Linked DNA regions of Homo sapiens: regions 2, 3, 4, 5, 6 and 7 are each linked to region 1. Evidence: promoter capture Hi-C in 16 types of primary human blood cells and fetal thymus (Javierre and others, 2016). All regions are on one chromosome and are shown on one strand. Each heading gives the region's core, a stretch centred on a gene start or on the middle of the fragment in contact. The rest is flanking DNA. Distances are from core to core; before and after follow the strand shown.

What was found. The method cuts DNA at HindIII sites, captures the fragments that hold promoters and counts their contacts. A CHiCAGO score of 5 or more calls a contact.
Region 2: a fragment that was not itself captured here is called in contact with the fragment with the promoter of RELL1 in region 1 in 1 of 17 cell types (M0 macrophages); the score reaches 8.7 in M0 macrophages.
Region 3: a contact is called between a fragment that was not itself captured here and the fragment with the promoter of RELL1 in region 1, in 1 of 17 cell types (neutrophils). The highest score is 6.1, in neutrophils.
Region 4: a fragment that was not itself captured here is called in contact with the fragment with the promoter of RELL1 in region 1 in 2 of 17 cell types (M1 macrophages and M0 macrophages); the score reaches 6.7 in M1 macrophages.
Region 5: a fragment that was not itself captured here is called in contact with the fragment with the promoter of RELL1 in region 1 in 2 of 17 cell types (M2 macrophages and M0 macrophages); the score reaches 6.5 in M2 macrophages.
Region 6: a contact is called between the fragment with the promoter of RFC1 here and the fragment with the promoter of RELL1 in region 1, in 2 of 17 cell types (naive CD4 T cells and total CD8 T cells). The highest score is 5.5, in naive CD4 T cells.
Region 7: a fragment that was not itself captured here is called in contact with the fragment with the promoter of RELL1 in region 1 in 1 of 17 cell types (total CD8 T cells); the score reaches 7.8 in total CD8 T cells.

What each region holds. Positions count from the first base shown.
Region 1 is chr4:37,685,039-37,687,929 of GRCh38, reverse strand. It overlaps RELL1 (RELT like 1), which reads left to right and starts at 1,554. Exons shown (of 7, transcript NM_001085400.2): 1 at 1,554-1,730. The coding sequence starts at 1,643. RefSeq lists silencers at 856-1,165, 1,346-2,015. The HindIII fragment of the contact is 3,799 bases long and covers 1-2,656 here.
Region 2 is chr4:36,309,756-36,312,455 of GRCh38, reverse strand. The region is part of intron 7 of DTHD1 (death domain containing 1); the gene reads right to left. Among named protein-coding and RNA genes, the nearest start is that of DTHD1, 29 kb to the right of the region's middle. The HindIII fragment of the contact is 885 bases long and covers 921-1,805 here.
Region 3 is chr4:38,869,334-38,872,033 of GRCh38, reverse strand. The region is part of intron 2 of FAM114A1 (family with sequence similarity 114 member A1); the gene reads right to left. Among named protein-coding and RNA genes, the nearest start is that of MIR574, 2.7 kb to the right of the region's middle. The HindIII fragment of the contact is 2,272 bases long and covers 140-2,411 here.
Region 4 is chr4:36,264,556-36,267,322 of GRCh38, reverse strand. The region is part of intron 3 of LOC439933 (a long non-coding RNA gene); the gene reads right to left. Among named protein-coding and RNA genes, the nearest start is that of DTHD1, 16 kb to the left of the region's middle. The HindIII fragment of the contact is 1,880 bases long and covers 420-2,299 here.
Region 5 is chr4:36,333,056-36,335,840 of GRCh38, reverse strand. All of the region lies in intron 8 of DTHD1 (death domain containing 1), which reads right to left. Among named protein-coding and RNA genes, the nearest start is that of DTHD1, 53 kb to the right of the region's middle. The HindIII fragment of the contact is 7,023 bases long and covers 1-2,785 here.
Region 6 is chr4:39,364,739-39,367,644 of GRCh38, reverse strand. It overlaps RFC1 (replication factor C subunit 1), which reads left to right and starts at 1,283. Exons shown (of 25, transcript NM_002913.5): 1 at 1,283-1,406. The coding sequence starts at 1,404. RefSeq lists an enhancer at 1,242-1,361. The HindIII fragment of the contact is 1,173 bases long and covers 619-1,791 here.
Region 7 is chr4:38,804,354-38,807,053 of GRCh38, reverse strand. TLR1 (toll like receptor 1) reads left to right here and starts at 2,263. Exons shown (of 4, transcript NM_003263.4): 1 at 2,263-2,300; 2 at 2,672-2,700. RefSeq lists enhancers at 1,263-1,432, 2,391-2,560, 2,495-2,664, 2,572-2,700, 2,608-2,700. The HindIII fragment of the contact is 662 bases long and covers 1,026-1,687 here.

The sequences.
Region 1 (2,891 bases), core at 305-2,804:
CGCTGCCAACTGAGCGCAGGACGCGCAGTGCCCTCCTTGGGCTTCAAAGGGCAGGGGCTCCATCCTTCAGCCTCAGCCATCTGTACTGTAGTGGCCTGAGCTTCTGTCACTGGCAATTCCCACATCAATGCAATGTTTGTAATAATAGTCCAGCAGACTGCGTGGAGGACTCGGTGAGAGAATAAATAGTCCTCTGAAAACTAGAGGTTATCAGTCACCTCAAGGATGAGACCCATCCTGTGAAAACCCACAGCCTCCATGCACCCCCTCTTCTTGCTGGTGTTGAGTATTTGCTCAAGTCCTGCCCTAATTTCCTTCAAGCAAATGCTTGATGGCCCAGTAACAACAGTCTCTACAGGGCAGTAAAAAGGAACTATTCAGAGAGAGCCTCTGAGTCCTATTAATGCTTGTGAAGATGATTCAACTTCAGAAAACACTTCTGACCTCTTAGCGTGTGCTGTCTGTCCTCCATCCAGGCGCTGAGGGCACAGCAGCGAGCAAACACAATGACAATGAGATAATTACAATTTATCATGGTGGCCCAGACATCGTGGGTTTACTCCCTGGCCTCTAATAGTCACCTCGCAGAGCTGATGTGAGGATGTGAGGAGATAATAAGCGTCTGGGCATTGAAAGACCTACTTTGCGGGAGTATGCGCAAGGTGCAATACAAGCACACGATTAAAAAAAAAAGGCAAGTTGTTCCTGAAAATGCATAGAGGTATTTTCCCCAATAGGAGCAGCTTAAATGCAAACAAACAGAGGAAGAAATTTAAGTTATCTTTTCTGCTAATTTCCAAACAACAGAACGTGACATCCAGCACAGCATCACTCCCTAGATCTGCAACCGAGGGGAATGCTAGTGGATAGACATGCCAACAGCGAAAAAAGCCTGTGCTCACTCCAGTGCTGGCCGCTTCTGACTGTCCAGTGCTTCTCGGGGCGCGCTCCCTCTTTCTCTTCCCACGCCCGCCTAGTCCCAGCGACCGAGGGAGGTTGCACCCGGGCGACCCTCCCCCCGCCCCGGGCTCCCGCGTAATCCCGGCCCGGCTTGGAAAGGAAGCGGGCCTGGCAAGTAGAGGCACGGCCGGGCCACGGTGGGCAGGGCGCAAGGGCGGGGCTATAGCCTAACTGCGCCGCCAAGGCTGCTGCTGGGTTTGGAAAGGAAGCGGGAGAGGAGGGGTCGGGCTGAGCTGTGGGTGGGGAAAAGGGCGGGGCCATGGATGGGCCACGTGCCTTCTTAGGTGGAGTCCGGGGCTCGGTAGGGAGAGGCGGGGCCAAGCTGAGGTGGGTGGAGAAAGAGGGCGTGTCCATGGCCTAGCTACGCCGCTGAGGCTGCTGCGGGGTTTGGAAAGGAAGCGGGAATGGCAGGGAGAGGCGGGATCAGGCTGAGGTGGGCGGGGAGTCGGGGGCGGAGCCATGAGTGGACCTCGTGCCGGCTTAGGTGGAGCCCGGGGCGCGCGGGGAGAGGCGGGACCGAGCCGAGGTGGGTGTGGCGTGGGGCGGGGCAATGGCGGGGCGGGGTTCGCCGCTCCCTGGGGCCCAGCCCAGCCACTCGATCAGCCCGCCGGCTCCGGAGCGGCTCTGCCTTCCCGAGCGCGGGACGCGGCGCCCTGGGGGAGGAGGGCGAAGCGACGCGGCGATGGCTCCGCGGGCACTCCCGGGGTCCGCCGTCCTAGCCGCTGCTGTCTTCGTGGGAGGCGCCGTGAGTTCGCCGCTGGTGGCTCCGGGTGAGTGTCCGGTCGTAGCCGGGGCGCCGGGTGCTGAGCCCGGTCCCGGGAGCGCGGAAGGAAGCGAGGGGTCGGGACGGCAGCCCCGCGGCGTCCTGCTTTCTGGCACAGCCGCGGGATCCCGGCACTGAACAACTGGCTGTCCCGCGGCGGTCCGGGCAGGGCGCGGTGCGTGGCAACGGCTCCCGTCCCTCCCCTCCCGCGGGCCCCGCTCCCGCCTTCCCTCCCTGGGGCCTCCTCCGAGGATCTGTGTTCCCCAGCGCTGGGCAGTGCGGGGCGTAGGGACCAGGCCTTCTTCGGGGGCGCTTCCTCCACGGCCGCTCGCCTCGGAACCCCGCGGACCCGTTTCCCGCCGCCCTTGTCCTCAAAGGCGCCGCGAGCGGAAGATCGTGACACAGAGCACCGGGTGCGCTGTCGGCGCCTCCTTCTCCCTTTTAAATACCTTAAAATATCCTAAAACCTGGAGGACTTTGAATCTCTTTCCACGTTTCCATTTATTTGGGTGGTTGATGGATTCTTGTAACAGGTCAAGGAGTCCACATTTCTTCCCATATATCCTGTATAAATCAGGCTCGGAAAAAGGGAAGGCGCGTTGGTAAACTTACATTTTTTTCTTCTTTTTGTTGATTCCTGTCGTCACGAAAGGAACCTTGTGTGGTCAGGGCAGGAAGCCACCAACAGAGATGCTAAAGTGTCACCAACGATGAAGCAGTTTTTAATTGAAATCAATCTTAAGAGGAGGTGTAAGTTTTATGGAAGTCCTATGTCACATCCTTGCTTTTATAATTACAGACACTAGGGATTCCTTACCACCGCTTCCCCTCTTAATTGCCACCTAACAGCTGCAGTTAAAAAAAAAACATACTTACTTGGCCATTTGGGGTTACTACAGCTGGGAATCTGACGTCAGCAAGCTCTTCCAAGCTTGATTTCAGCGGTGGTTCCTCCTCAGGCCCAAATAATAAGCAACTGGAAGCCTTTCAACAGTGACTGTCTCCTCCATAAACATCCATAAACTCTTCCTCCTGAGAACATTTCAGTCGCTTACAACTTTTACACTGACTTAGCAGTTTGGCCTTCACTTTTTCATAGAAACCAGAGCAGGTTGGAAGGGAAGGAGATGGATAATATTGTCTCCTGAGTCTTTTTAGCAGGCCCGTA
Region 2 (2,700 bases), core at 114-2,613, 1.4 Mb after region 1:
TTTATTTACTTATTTGCTTATTCTCTGTCTTTCTTCATTAGACTTTAATATACCTAAGATCAACAAATTTTTGTTGAGCAAATTAAAGAATGGTTATTATATAGGTGTAGAGATAGATGTAGAGATACATCCTATAGAATATCTAGAAAAATCACTTCCCTGGGCCAAAGGGCATTCAGGGCAACTTTAAAAGGCAGACCTCACAGGGCATTACTAGATGTTATGGATGATGCCATGGTGTCATTATATAAAATCATATTAAAACACTTCCTGGCACTTTCTGGATTTTGTGTGCAGTTGGGGCTTGAATAACATGCAATAATCCAAGTGCTAAACTGACAACTCTAACCTAGAGAATGAAAGCTTGCTGTAGCTTGTTTCCAGAAGAATGCCAAAAACCGTCATAAAAACCAAAGGACGCACCTATCCATCTTCCTTCCTATTAGAGATAGAAATACAGTCCATGTCCTGTGACCTTCACTGAAAAGTCATTCATATTCTCTATAAGTGAATAGAGAGATTTTGGCATTTCTCAAAGGCAGTAATCTAAATTTATTAATTAAAGTTTTAAATACTTTTAATTGCACTTAATACTATAATGCTTTTTTTCTAAACTTTGGTCTTCATTTCTTTCAATGAATACTGAGTTTATTCTAACTGTCAGGCTCTGCCCTAGGTGCTGGGGACTGAATGCTGCCCTCCAATAGGATGGAGACTGAATGCTGCCCACCAGCAGGACAGTGCCTCCATGGATGTGACCATGGTAGGAGAAACTGGCATTGGTCAAACAATTAAATGAAAAAATAGAAAATTGCATGTGACAAAGGCCACAAATGAAAAAAGGAGGATCTGCAAAAGTATAATAGAACTATTAAAAAATAAAATAAGGTCTGACATAATCAGGAAGGATAGAGAAAGCTTCTCAGAACATGATAGTTGAGGTGAGATCTGAAGATACAGCAGGAGAGAACTGGGGGTGAGGGTGGGGGTGGGGAGGGCGAGGAGAACCCTCCAGGCAGAGAATCTCTAGCTTTATCTCTTTGAGATTCACAGAGACTACGCTAGGCCCTGATAAAAGGATGGATCTATGCTTTTACCAGGATGAGGTATCAATTGTTTACTGAGGATCTTTTCCCTCTTAGGCAGAGAAAAACCCAGTGAGGCTCCAGATCTGAGCCTGTCTCCCTAGGAAAAGCAAACCCAGGATCTGGGTATCCTGCCTGCTCATTTTCCCTGAATGAAGATGAACTCTTCCCCAACCCTTATAGGGAGGAATTGCACAGGTGACGGCTGCCTTGGACGCTCTTGGTTTAGCACGTGCTCCCCGGTCTCCACAACAGGCAGTGGGATATTCAGTACCACTGCTTGTGAGTAGAACAGTAATGCACTCCTATTTAGGGTGGTTGGTAAACACAGCTGCTGTCCACAGTATTACAGGAAAATCATTTGCATCATTCGTTTGGGTGGGACCCTTCTGCTTAGTACTATGTCTCAGTAGAGAGATTTCTCCAGGGTGGACGCTGTGGTTTCTGCTCCGGAAGCCAAGTAGGAAGGGGCCTCTTCCACCCTTCCTTCCTCTCCCTCCTCTCTCTTCCCTGCCCCCTTCTCTGCCATCTTTGTCACTTGCTCACTAAGTCCCGTCAGCTGGCTCAGATGCTGAGATCCTGTATGTGACAGTAGAATAGACACTTAAAATTGGGACACTTTAGGTCTCACTTATTCCTGAGATATCAAAAAAGCTGGGAGGGCAGCATCAGCTTCAAGCCTTGTCCCTTTTTTGAAGCAAAAAAAGAACCAATGAAGCTTGGAGCTATTTCCTGAATCAGAGAGAAAATAGGCATAATAAAATTAAATCGGATCCATATTAATTTATAAGTAAACGGAGCACATCCCCTCAAGTAAAGTATGTAGAAAGCCTCCTGGAACAGAAATCTTCATAAAACCTGTCCGGAATTTTCCCTCTCACCTCATTTTTACACACACACCTGTCTGATTCTATTCCACCACAGGGCAAGCAGTTAGAAAGAGGAAGGTGTTGGCTTAATGAAAAAGAAATTGTTGTGATGGCAACTCTTTCAAAGACGTTTCCTCTCTATTCCCACACAGCTGTTTTCTCTTCTTGTTCTTTTTCTTCCTTTTCTCTTTCTCTTCATCTCTTTCCTTTGAACTCTTTAGTCTCATCTATTCCTTCACTTCTGTAATCTCTCCTGCCACCTCTCATATTCATCCTGCTTGCTTTCCTCATCACTGTCATATAATCATTCATTCACTACACACTTATCAAAAGCACTTGCATGTTCACTGCAGCACTATTTACAATAGCAAAGTCATGGAATCAACTTACGTGCCCATCAATGGTGGACTGGATAAAGAAAATGTGGTACATATACACCATGGAATACCATGCAGCCACAAAAAAGAACAAAATCATGTCCTTTGCAACAAAATGGATGCAACTAGAAGTCATTATCCTAAGCAAATTAATGCAGAAACAGAAAACCTAATACTGCATGTTCTTATAAGTGGGAGCTAAACCTTAGGTGCACATGGACATGAGGATGGCAACAATAGAAACTGGAGACTACAAGGGCTGAAAAACTCGTTGTTGAAATCATTCTCTAGATATAAATCTATCAAACATTGTACAGAAAAAATGAGGATGATAGTTTATTTGTCAGTCAATGATATTTCTTCAGTGTA
Region 3 (2,700 bases), core at 26-2,525, 1.2 Mb before region 1:
GTACAGGTGCCTTCTCTGCTTCTATACCCAAGACATGAGATTGCACTGAATCCAGCAGCTGACTTACCCTTTGGAGTAGCGTTCTTCTAGGTTCTCTAGCTGAATGCAGGACTCCAAAGCCTGAAGGTGACTAGAAGCTTAGTTGAGTCCTGCCTCTAGAACACAGGCCTAAAAGGACAGTGAGCTAGGACTTCCTTGAGCTTATAAGAACAGACTGGTTAACTAAGCCTGTTTGCTAATACATGTGTGGGTTTATGGCAGAATTCCATCAGTGAACTTGGATTCATGGTAATTTAACTCTTGGTAGGGAAGTTGCAGAGGAGGAAACCTAGAGCCCTTACCTATCTCTGATGGCCAAATTACCTTAGGTCAGTTTATCCCAAATGTAGAAAAAGTACTGCAGTAAAACTCCTCTCTGTGGCTGTTCTGCATTCAACCAACACAAACCATCCCTTCAGAAATACCCCAGAAACTCAGCTGTAAGATGTTAAACAGGCATTGTTAAAACATATTTATGGACTATTGTCAAAAAATATTTATGGATTATTATTTAAAATATTTATAGATTATTGTTTAAAATATTTATGGATAATTTATAAATTTTATTAATACTAGATCTTTACATCTGTTAAATTTAAAAATGGTCATCGGTCAGGCATAGTGGCTCACATCCCAGCACTTTGGGAGGCCAAGGCAGACAGATCACTTGAGGCCAGGAGTTCCAGACCAGCCTGCCCAGCAGAGTGAAATCCTGTCTCTACTAAAAATACAAAAAAATTAGCTGGGCATGGTGGCATGTGCCTGTAATCCCAGCTACTCTGGAGGCTGAGGCATGAGAATTGCTTGAACCTGGAAGGCAGAGGCTACAGTGAGCCAGGATCATGCCACTGCACTCCAGCCTGGGTGACAGTGTGAGACCCTGTCGCAAAAAAAAAAAAAAAAAAAAAGAAAGAAAAAAAAGAAAGCCATGCAAGATCAGCTCTAATTCAATTTCTAATTGTGTGTATCTCTAATCCATATTTATCTCTACTTGTTACAGGTCTAATTTTCCCCAAATCAAAACGAAAAAAAATTATTTTTTGTTTGGTTGTTCTGGTAGAACTTTATCGACTGTGGATGCTATCATGATGGGGGAAATGTAATCATTTTTCAGACTATACCCTTTTGTATGAAACCACTAGAAACTGTGTGTTTGAAATACAGAACTGTTTCTGAGCAGGGGCTGCTGGAGTCCACCAGGATTACAGTCATGACAAGCACTGTGTTTCCTGGGACGGTTTCCATCTCCGTCTGGGTGTTCCATAAGCCAGACTTAGAAACCTTTCCTGATTTATGGTTAGGAACACTGATCACTGTAGCCATGTCTCGTGGACTGGAGGCTAGGGAGACTCAACCCACAGAAACAAGGAGGCTGCTTCAGGAAACTCTAAGGAGAGGAAGGGTGGCATATAAAGAAGCCTTTGTGGGCTGGGAATAAGTTAGTTTTTCGTGAGTAAATTCATTCATCACCTAAAATGCTCCCAGAACTATGCAAGGTATTTAAGCAGCAACATCACAGCTCCAAAAATAAGTATAAAACAGAAGACATGGTCACTATCCTTCAGAAATCAATCATCTGTTTGAGGAGCTAACACAAAACAGTTAAAAAGTGATGCAAAACAGCACAGCAAATCAAGGACAGATGTGCCTGAACTAGACTGACCCTGTGCAAGGGAGAATCTTGAAAGTGTCTTTGATGTGGTGATTCAGGCCTGGTGGGATGAGAGCATGTGCAAATGTCCAAGCATCAGCGATGGACTGTAGTGATTCAGGACAGGTGTCTGAGAGGCCAGGACATGAGGCTGCATGGAGGAATGATGAGAGGTGGGAGCGATGGTATTCTGAGGTGGAAAGAGTTGTGTCCTGCAGGCGTCAAGGGATGTGGCCTCTGGTCCCAGTATCCCTTTGTGGGCACACAACTTGATCCTCACTGTGCTTACACCTGCTCCTCTGTAAAGCTAGGATGGACAAACTGATCTGGATGCTTTTTTTTCCAAACTCCACCTGCAGGACTGGGGCAAGTCTGTGATGATAGAGAAAAATGAGGACAAGATTGCAAGTTTTTCATAAATCTAAATTTATTAAATGTAAAGGACTGCCTTCATCTTTCAAGTTTAGCCTTTGTGCTTTTTCTTGGTATTAAAATGTCTTTCATTTTATGAAATAGTGACAGTGGATGGATTTTTTTAAAAAAAATGGCCTGACTTGGCAGCATAAAAATTTGGTTAGCATGATATCCTGTGTGAGGTCATCTCCCCCAGTTAAAAAAAAAAAACAAAAACAGTGCCAGTCAGCGAAGGACCAGGAATAAAAACTCTGGATGAGAGGCTCTTAATCAGGTTGTAGCAGTTTGTATGAGTTTGTATAAAGCTTGACAAGTCTACGTACCCAGGCTCCAGCCTATTCTCTGTGAGGCTGCCAGGCATTTTTGGACCTATTTGCTCTCCTGTTCAAAAACCATTAGGTGTAAATATCTTCACACTTCCCATCATAATCCAGCTCCAATCTCTCTCCACCTCTTGCAACTCTCAGTATCCTCCACTCCTGCCTCACCAGTCTTTTCTCCATTCCCCATAACTCTTCACATCTCCCTGCCTTTGCTTACGCTGGTTCCTCTGCCCCGGTGCTGCCCTTCCTCCAGCTGCCTGGCAAACTCCTATT
Region 4 (2,767 bases), core at 110-2,609, 1.4 Mb after region 1:
TTAAACAAAAAGATCCATTCCTTTAAATAAAAAGCATGAGATGTAAATTCGCATGCTTGCTTGAATTGAAACTATTAAATTTTTCACAACTCCCTTCAGTATTCTTTCTTTTTTTGTTCTTTTTTTTAGAGATGAGGGTCTTGCTTTGTTGCCCTGGCTGGAGTGCAGTGACACAATCATACTTCACTGCTGCCTCAAATTCCTAGGCTCAAGTGATCTACCCGCCTCAGCCTCTTAAAATCCTGAGATTACATTCTTGAGCCACACCACCTGGCCTGTTTATTTCTAAAACTTCATCAGTGATTTTTAATCATGGTTTGGGCATAGTAAACATTGATATATACGTACATGTATAATTTATTTAAAATTTTATAGCCTACTTATTTCCATCCCCTCTAAAAAATCCAACTATTTAAGCTTACCTAAAATAAACTCACAAACAATATAAGTACTACTAATAAAGTTTTACAAATAAAAAATTATACAGGGAAAAGAGAAAAAGAATTACTAGGAAAGTGGAAACATCATTCTTAAGCATTGACCTTCACACTGAGTTTCCTGGCCATCAAGGCAATGGCAGAATAAAGTCTTAGTCCCATTTTTAGATGAAAGGAGGTATAAAACATTTCTGCCAGGGAGAGAAAAGGGGAGGTAGCTGGGAAAGGCTTGGTTTGAACTTGGTTGAAGAATAAAAAGAGGGAAGGAAGAAATGAAGGAAAGGGAAGGAAGGAAGGAAGGGAGGGAGGGAAGGAGGGAGGGAGGGAGGAATGAAGGAAGGAAATTTGAATGGGAGCATTTTAGATGGACCCTGCAGTTTTAAGGAGTGATCAACCTAGCCATCCGGGAGGTATCAGGTACTGAATTACAGATGATTTTAGCATCTAGATCTTTATGTAAAGGATTATTAATATAATGAACAAGGTCTCCAAAAGAGGCTTTGAAAAAGCATCAATATTTCTTTCTGGTTCTTATATTGAATCCAGTGAAAGCATTTGAAAATTAAACTGTCTTCCTGGGAACTAATTTTCTTTTAGGCAATAGAGTACTAACTTAGCATATTCTTGATCATCTCAATGGAAGCTGAAATAGAAGATAAAGCAATGGAAGAAAGGAAGATGAGCTTATCCTTTATAGTCTTATTCAAATATTAGATCAACTATGCTTTGGGCCAGAATAAGTGTCAGTCCATTCAATGTTGCATTATATACAGTGAGGTGAAGCGTATCTTCACCTACTCGGATTTCCTGGAACTTGGAAAACTTGCTATATTTTCTCAGATACTCTTTCAGAGATAACTTCACTCTAGACAAAAGACTAGTGGAAGTGAGTGAGAACATAGGCATGGAACAGGTAAATTTCCATGGATGTTCATCCGTGTGGTCTCAGGACAACTGGATTTTCCCATTCTAAGTACACTTTCCAGACATAGCCTGGCTTCTGTTAGGGAAGGAAGGGTATGTGAACTATGAGTGTAAACTCTATATAAAGAAACTCTTATCTTGAAACTCTATGTGGTGAAAAAAAAGGTCTAGAATTAGCACCCAGGCAGTTTTGTTGGTCTAATCAAATTATAGAGGTCAATTTTTCTAAATTAATTATTTGTTTATTAACTTTCCTTTTTTTCCCTCTTTGGTTCTAGACCTTATTTTCTTAGTGTGCTAACATTTTTCTTTCGCAGTTGTGTTCATCCATGTCATCCAAGAAGCAAATAGCTGTACCAGATTAAACATGTAAGAAATTTATTAAGGGAACTGCCAGAGAGAGAAAAGGGGTGGGAGCTGGGAAAGGCTTGGTCTGACCTTGGTTAAAAAAGAAAAACAGGAAAGGAAGGAATAAAGGAAAGAAGGAAGGAAGCAAGGAAGGAAGTTAATTTTGGTGGAATCATTTTAAATGGGTCCTGCAGCCCTGCGGTTTTAAGAAAAGATCAACATAGCCATCTGGGAGGTCTCAAGCCAAAAATCTCTACTCACAAAGGACTTCTGGGTTTCCCAGCAACACACCTGCCTTGGTGTCACTGCCACACCCAGACATTGGCTGAGAGCCAAGGAGAAACTGTGGTCCTAAAGCAACTGAGGCAATGAGTTCCAGAGCTTAGCAGCTAGAGGCATTGGTTAGTTACACTCTCAGCAGTCAGGGGTCCGAGATGCACATTCTCATGGGAGCCACAGCAATATGCATATTATTGCTTTAATGCACTTTGAGCAAGTTAATCATATTACTTCCCATTTTTGTCTATTTGTTTAATATAGAATAATTAAAATCATTTTTTGAATATTCAGTAGGTGACTTGTTAAAAGCTTTCCATGCATTATGTTATTTCATCTTCTCAAATACCCTGTTATGAGTCCCATTTTACAGATTACTTAGTTCATTTTCTTACACGAACAGGCTATGATACACTATTACATTATCTTGGTAAAACTAAGAACTACGTTTCCCAGAATCCCCTCACCTATATAGTCCCTTACCAATATAGAGTTAGTGAACAGAAAAGCTTGCAAAAGATTTGAAAATTGGAAGTGACACAGCAGACAATAGTCTGTGAAAGCTGTTTTGCAGTCTGAGGAGGTAATGGATAGATTAGTGGTGCTCAGTAGATTCCAGTGTGCCTTCTTTCTCTGCTCTGCTACTAGGTCTTCCTCCAGCCTACTGGCCCTAAAGATCAATGCTGGCCTCAAGACATACTTCCAGACATTTGGCTGTGGACCCCTAGAGTTGTAGAGTTGGTCTCTGCAGGGAGCACTTCCTATGGGCTCCCCTTTGTGGC
Region 5 (2,785 bases), core at 251-2,750, 1.4 Mb after region 1:
ATTCTTAAAGCTAACTAAACCATTTTTTACTTGAACTCATATGTGTGAAAGTTTGATCTTTTGTGTGCAACTCAACAAACTGGACTTGGTTACATCTACTCAATTACCCAGTGTTATTTCCCAAGAAACCTCCAAAAGTTTTTAACCCTCCTTGGGGCTTTTCAGTGCTCCAAGATCCAGCCATTATCAGGCTTCCCTTTACTCAATAGACTTAACGTTTTTGAGGGCCAGGAAAGTATATCTCATTCCTGTACATGTTAGACATCATAGTAGGTAAGGTGTTGTACACAAAAAGTGGTAAAAAATATTTTATTGGTTGGGTGCAATAGCTCATGCTTATAATCCCAGCACCTTAGGAGGCTGAGGCAGGAGGATGGCTTTAGCTTAGGAGTTTGAGATCAGCCTGGGCAACACAGCAAGACCTCATCTCTACAAAAAAAATACAAAAAAATAGCCAGGTGTAGTGGCTTACTCCTGTGGTCTCAGCTACTTGGGAGGCTGAGGGAGGAGGATCACCTGAGCCTGGGAGGCAGAGGTTGCATTTAGCTGAAATCATGCCACTGCACTCCAGCCTTCATGACAGAATGAGAGCACCCCCCCTCAAAAAACTTAACAAAAATTTGTATTCACATGATGATATCGTCTCTCGATTTAAATGATACGCCCCTTCAAATCCTGCCATATTTTCAAGGAACTGGTCAAATTCTACCTCTTTTATAAATTAGTTTCTTATTTGGGAATTTATGCACTATACTATCACACAATTTATCTAACAACTTAATATTATATTGTTGTTAATGCCATTCATATATGTTGTTTTCCCTCCCCAATTAGACATTCACTGATTTATTGTGCCCTCTTCTGCATCTTCTTTTATATCAGTACTTACATTTGCCACATGTTAAGCACATCATACCTTTAATAAATACTTAGTAGCCAGAATGGCCCTCCATGGACAATCACAAGGATTGTTATCATCATACATTTAAGGTCAGCAGTTTTAGCTGTTCACACAATCTGCACAGCAAGGTTTTTATGTATCCATGAAGATTACTTCCACCATTTCCTGCAGAACACATTTCAGATCTCCGCTGCTTTTTGAAAAACACATGCCTTACACCCTGTCTACCACTCTCTCACGAGGCGTTTAGTTTTCTATTTTCTGAGAAAATTAAGCAGTGTGCTGAGCATGGTGGCTCATGCCTATAATCCCAGCACTTTGGGAGGCCGAGGCAGGTGGATCACCTGAGGTCACGAGTTTGACATCAGCCTGGCCAAGATGGTGAAACCCTGTCTCTACTAAAAATGCAAAGATTAGCCAGGTGTGGTGGTGCACACCTGTAGTCCCAGCTACTCAGGAGTCTGAAGGCAAGAGAATCGCTTGATCCCGGGAGGCCAAGGTTGCAGTGAGCTGAGATCGTGCCACTGCACTCCAGCCTGGGTGACAGAGTGAGACTCTGAAAGAAAAAAAAAAAAAAAAAACCAAAAAAAATAAAAGTAGGCAGTGGTTCTCAAACCTGAGTGTTCCTGACAATGAACCTTGAGAAAGGGGCAAAAAAGGGAAGCTCACACTTGGATTCAACTGGTCTCAGATAAGGCCACATTTGGAATAAGCAACTGGGTGATTCTGATGCTGAGGCTGAGTGCACATAGAAAAAGCCAATCAAGTATCAAACCCTACATGAATTATCAACTAGCACCCCTATAAATATATCCCAATGAGTACATGGAAGAATGAAAGAAACATCTTTATCCAAAAAGTGATGAAGATTTCTAACGTCACATCAGGACAAAAGTAAACTTCAGATTGCTTCACCTTACCTAAAGCTATAGGGATGTAGTAATAAAAATATTGATTTCTATTAAGTAATTTCATAAATTACCTCACAGGAATCACGCAGATGACCTAGCTCTGGGGCCCATCATCTCATGCAGAAATTTCAGTTTCTGGCAAAGTTTTCTCAAGTATTTCTGGCAGTTTCATGGGCTTTACTCTCTTGGCATCCACACTGTTCCACTAGGTGCCCCCCAGTGCTCAGCTGGACCATGCAGCCCTCCACACTCCTTCTGTGGGCACGGCAGCTTCTCCCCATGCATCTATCACCACGTAGCATGCCATGATGGTTTCTACCTGTCCTTTAGTTTTCCTCTCATGGTGCCATATAGGTCCAGATGACATCTGTGGTTTCCACAGGTTCGCACAGCTGCTGCCCTACTGCTGCTCTGCTGGATCCCACCAGCAGTGATCCCACTGCACCTGCTTTATATGGAGCTCTTGGTCTCTCCTGCTTCCCTTCCAAGCGAAGCAATTGTCTGTTAGTGGCCACCCTAAGCTCTCCCGGTGTGTGAGCTGTGTGGTAAAACATGATAGGATAAAGGAAGTGGCTTCCTACCCCTCATGTCACATGACATTAAAGTAATATTGACTGTGCCCTGATATGCCACAGAACTAAATAAAATAGGCCTTCTTTTTTTTAATTAAAACTTTTTTCCTTCAGACATAATCATGCATCTAAGGAGTGGAACTTCGGTGCTCAACTCTAAACACTTGCTGGCCCCAATGACTAGAGCTCTCAGTGTATGATATGATATATATTTGTATATTTCACATATATGTAACATGTACTATATATAATTATGCTATATAATAATGTGTAATATTTATATTACATATGATATACTTAACATGCAATATTTAATACATTCATATATATTTAATGAATTTTTATGCTAAATTTATAAAATATGTGCATGCATTTTTAGGTAAAACCATCCTAACTCCCCT
Region 6 (2,906 bases), core at 34-2,533, 1.7 Mb before region 1:
AATATAAAAGACACGTACAACTTTTTATGTCTTATTTACTCATTTATTGATTTATAACACAATGAACATTATAAATTGGTGTAGGTCCTCTAAAATTATGGGCAAAAATTTGTGTGATATGTCTGCTAAGACAAAACCGAGGCACAGTAACTTGCCCTTGGTCACATAAATAGCAGGTGGTGGGGCTGGAGACCTAGCATCCTGGCTTCAGAGGGAACAGTGCAGTGAGGCCCTGTTAATAAGTAACAGTCTGTCTGTAAATTCGGGATAAGAGTAGTCAGTGTCATCATGGGGATAAAATGAGCTAGGCTAGTCCAGAGCTGCACGTACAACAATAGGCGTTTAATAAATACAAGCTGTCAATGCTCAGCCTCTGTTGTATTCCAGGCTGTTCTATCTTTCGCCATAGAAATGTTGGTGTCATAAAGCGCAAGACCCAACAGGGGGTGGATGGGTGAGAATTTCAAAAGTGTAGCTAGAGCCAAAGCTGGAGATACTGCTTTCTCCATTGAACTCTTTATGGTCTAATCTTTCTCTTGAAATCGTACGCAAATGTTTCATTGTATTCCGTGATTCAATTGCTAATCTATTCATATACAACTGGTTTACCCCAAAGCTTTCGGTATCTTTTCTTTTTTTTGAGGCGGAGTTTCGCTCTGTCGCCCAGGCTAAAGGGCAGTAGCTCGATCTCGGCTCACTGCACCACTGCCTCCTGGGTTCAAGCAATTCTCCTGTCTCAGTCTCCCGAGTAGCTGGGACTACAGGCACACGTCACCACCCCCTGGCTAATTTTTGTATTTTTAGTAGAGACGGGGTTTCACCACATTGGTCAGGTGGTCTCGAACTCCTGACCTCAGGTGACCCACCCGCCTCGGCCTCCCAAAGTGCTGGGATTAGAGGGGTGAGCCACCGCGTCCGGCCTCTTGATGAAACCTTATTACAGAATAGATATTTATACATAATATGTAAAACGCACAGCTAAAACATTTATCTTACTAAAGTTGGTAGTAAAAACTTTTCAAAGTTACTATAGGGAAGTGCATTGTCCAGACGTGTAACCGGGAGGTACTTGGGTACCCCGCCTGCCAAGGAAACCAATATCGGATCCCCCTACTTTAGCGCCCCCGCCAAAAACCGAGCTCACACCAAAGCACCGTGGTTCCTCTCGATGTCAGCGGCCCGCCTGCCCTCGGGGCAGCACCTGGGCAGGCGTCGCACCTCCCGCCTCTGGGCGGGACGGAAGCAAAGCTCGCGCCTCCTGACGTCATCACCGCGCGCCACTGTCTTCGCCTTCTTGCACTTCGCGGGAGAAGTTGTTGGCGCGAATGGATCCTGAGCCTCGATAACAGATTCCTCAACCGGCCCACCCGCCAGCCAGCCAGCGCCTTCATCCTGGGGCTGCGATGGTGAGCCGCTGGGGGAGGCCGTGCGGCTCGGGGTCTGGGGGGGCTTTGCAGGCCTGGTGTGGACCGGGCACTCCTGGTATGCAGGGTGGGGGAGGATGGCGGTGGGTGGTTCCGGAGGCTAGCAAAGGCAGAGAAGGGGCCGCACACCGGGCACTGGACGCAAAACTTTCATTGCATCGCGGGCTCTGGCTCTGGGCGGCAGCCAGCGCGCAGGGATTTTGTTGCTACGTGTACTTGCACTTTCCCCCCGCCCCCCACTCTTGGGGGAAGGGAGAAAGGAAGAGAGGAAGGATGGTGGTTTTGGGACGCATTGGTAAAGTTATTTTCTTGTTCGGCGTTGCCCGAACCTCAGTTTGAGTACTGCCTAAAGCGTGGATTTCAAGCTTTGGGTCACGAGGGAGAAGAATGTAACAAACTTTTCTTTCTTAGGGAATATGTTGTGTAGGGCCTTAAACTTTTATCATTAACAGCTCAGCTCGTCTCATCTCCGCTCGTCATTAACGATCACCTGAGCGGTGTTGAGACCGAGGGCATGGAGAGGATATTTTATTTTGTTTAGATGAGTTCATAGGAGTCAAAAGGATAACATGGCTTACTAGGAAAAAGAAGTACAGCGAATAGAAACAGATGCAAGACATTTGACAGCTGTCATCCTCTTACCACCTGATGTTTAAAATCTGAAAAAAACCCAAGCCTCACTGCATAATTCTGGATAAAATGTTCAAACAAATTGAAAGTGAAATGATTATGCAGCCAGCAAAGCAGACATTCCTGATGGTATGGCAATGGATATGGCTCTGTGTTTGAAATATTTTTAAAGGACCATTTAAAATGTTCATTAAGCTAGAAGATACTTAACAATCCGATATAATTTTTTTCAATCATTGGTCAACGTGTCACAGTGACAACATTCTGGGGGGGGGCGGTGAAAATTTTATGCCACACTGGGAAACGTTGCAGGCCTTTGTGTTTCTTCTCAAAAAAGGGCAACAGTAATGATAGTAGCTACCTTGTACCAAGCATCTTCTTTAGGTCAATATGTGAACTGTTGGTTTTCCATGGTTTTTTTTTTTTTTTTTTTTTTTCATTTCAACCCACATCGATGCAGTTTTACAGATGGTGCAAGCACCTTTTTGGAATTTAAACAGTGTATCATATAACTAGTAGGTGGTTGAACTAGAATTAGAATCTTGGTGTTTCTGACCACCATGTTATACTACTTCCCTATAATGATCATCATTACATTTTGGAGGCCAAAGCACTGTGGTATTTTGGAAGCTTGAGACTTGGAGTCTTGAAGATGAAGAACGTGGTAATATTTTAGTTTAATGGTTTATATATTAATTTATAGTTATATTACTATGTTAGTATAGTCTAGTTTAATAGTTACGTGGTCTTGGGCAAGTAAATAGCTTAAGTTTAATCTCTTTAAGCCTCTGTTTCCTTATCTGTAAAAGAGGGGAAAATAATAGCTGCCATAGTGATTGTTTTGGGGATTAA
Region 7 (2,700 bases), core at 107-2,606, 1.1 Mb before region 1:
CCCAGCCAACACAGCGAAACCCCGTCTCCACCAAAAAAATACAAAAACCAGTCAGGCGTGGCGGCGTGCGCCTGCAATGGCAGGCACTCCGCAGGCTGAGGCAGAGAATCAGGCAGGGAGGTTGCAGTGAGCCGAGATGGCAGCAGTACAGTCCAGCTTCGGCTCGGCATCAGAGGGAGACCGTGGAGGTAGAGGTAGAGGTAGGGGTAGGGGTAGGGGTAGGGGTAGGGGTAGGGGTAGAGGTAGGTAGAGGTAGAGGTGTAGAGGTAGAGGGGAAGTGTGTGTTTGTTGATTGATGGGTGTACATGATTACAAGTGTGTGTTTGTTCTGTGGTGACCCACTGGACAGCAGGGGGAAAAAGAGGCAGGTAGGTGCCTCCGAATTAGACACTTTATTTTATTTATTTATTTATTTATTTATTTATTTATTTATTTATTTATTTTTTGAGATAGAGTCTTGCTCTGTCACCCAGGCTAGAGTGCAGTGGTGTGATCTTGGCTCACTGCAACCTCCGCCTCTTGGGTTCAGGCGATTCTCCTGCCTCAGCCTCCTAAGTAGCTGAGATCACAGGCATGTGCCACCACGTCCGGCTAATTTTTTTTATTTTTAGTAGAGACGGGGTTTCGCCTTCTCTACTAGGCTGGTCTCAAACTCCTGACCTCAGGTGATCTGCCTGCCTCAGCCTCCCAAAGTGTTGGGATTGTAGGCATGAGCTACCATGCCCGGCCTGAATTATACACTTTAAACGGGTGTATTTTTTATCGTTTGTGAAATTTTTTATGGAAGGTGAAATTTTTTATGGTTTGTGAATTATATATCAATAAGGTTTTGTTAAAAAAAAACACAACTAACTACAGATTACATCTAATTGACAGCATATTTTTACTGCCCTGAATCCAAAAAGAAATGCCCAGGTATGGGCTAGGGGTGGGCAGAGACACACACACTTGTAATCATGTACACAACTGGGAGTAGTGGGGATGAGTCTGTGGGGAAAAACAGGAATTCAGAGTGCTGAGAAGCTTCCCTTACTGCCCTGCCCACTTCCCTCCCCTGGGCATTGCTCCCTCAGCCTGGATTCACAAAGTCAATGCCTTTGGGAGCCAGGAACTAAATTCTTAGTCAAAGACACCTCCCTCCTGTCCAGTTATGGGTCTCAGGGAGGAAATGGCAGGTGGGTGGTTTCATTCTTTCAGTTTCAGAAAATATCTGTAGACATAACATATTTCCTCTATTAAACAAATTCTGAGGTAAGGGGAAACAGAGAGAGACAGTCAGAACATTATAAGTCGAAAAGAATCTCAGCATTCTTAGTTTAGGGAAGTTGGCCTTGCTCGCTGTGTGGTAGAAAAGCTGATTACGGGAGAGAACCGTGGAGGGAAGGAAGGGAGGCAGTTTTGTCATCCCCACATCCGGTTTTGACTGGACACCATGCAGGCTGAGATCAACTTCAGAGGCAGTCAGCTGGAATCCCATAGCTTTATTTGCCCATTTATTGTGTTGTTATTTTGTTGTTGTCATTACTGGAAAAGGCAAGAGTAGAGCTATCAGAATGTCTTCCTTGAACATGCTGTCAACAAACCCCAGGATTTTTATAAACCCTATGTGAAAAACACGCTAAGAATCTCTTTTCTTCTTAGCATATTTTTCACTTAGGGTTTACAAAAATATGTTTTGAAGAAAGCTTGAAAAGATCAGTGGAAAAAAATTCAGCACCAAATTTTCTCTGAAAATCAACTTGTCAAAAAAGACGTGATTAACATCCATCCTGTAACCAGCACATGAATGATCTTCCCTCTTTACGAGTGTGCTTCAGCAAAACTTTAATCTCGACCCCTCCCTCTTTCCACTTTTAATAGTGGATGGATGAAAAGGCAAGAGGAAAAACAAAGCAGCCGAAACACACCCAGACGCACACTTCTGCCAAGCATAGCCACCACGGTAAGCATTTTGAATTCAGCCAATTATGATCTGTGGATTATTAACATTACCTCATTTACTTCATCAGTGTAGACAATAGTAAACTGACTGTAGTGAAATTTGGAACCATAGAAACGTGATTCTATTTTAATACAGGCCTATCAGGTAACCCACAGACTATGCTACATATGAATAAGAGAAAATAAGTTTATTCTTAACTATGTAATGTAATTCCAGTGGAATTCGGTAGGTGGCATAAAACAGCCTTTTTGTTTTGTTTTGTTTTCAACACCAAATGTGGTTAACAGTGAAATAAATTCAAGGAAGTGCTTGAATTTCTTACAGACTGCCAAATGGAACAGACAAGCAGGTTGTCTTGGTAAGCAACACATTCTTTTCTTTTGTAAAAGAAAATAATTGTATAGCTAGTTATTAAGTACAGAAGTCTCAAAAATCTGTGTAAGTCCTGGGTGTTTTTCTAAGTGGGTTATATTTCTGATATGTATATAGTTACTGTGTAGTTTGTACTGGCATTTGTGTATCAGTTCTGAGTCCTAAATCAGAGAAAGTCCCCACACTCCTCTGGGAATAACACCTCGTGTGTGATTTGCTTATAGGAAATATTTTTGAGTTGGGAAATGAATATTTGGGTCACACACGTCTTCTGGTTTTCTTCCAGAGCAGCTGCTAGTTGTTGATTTTGACAGCATTTCTCTTCACCTAATCCCGCCATTTGTATTCTCTTCTCAGTGTTAAAGAAAATGAGATATAAGTCAGTT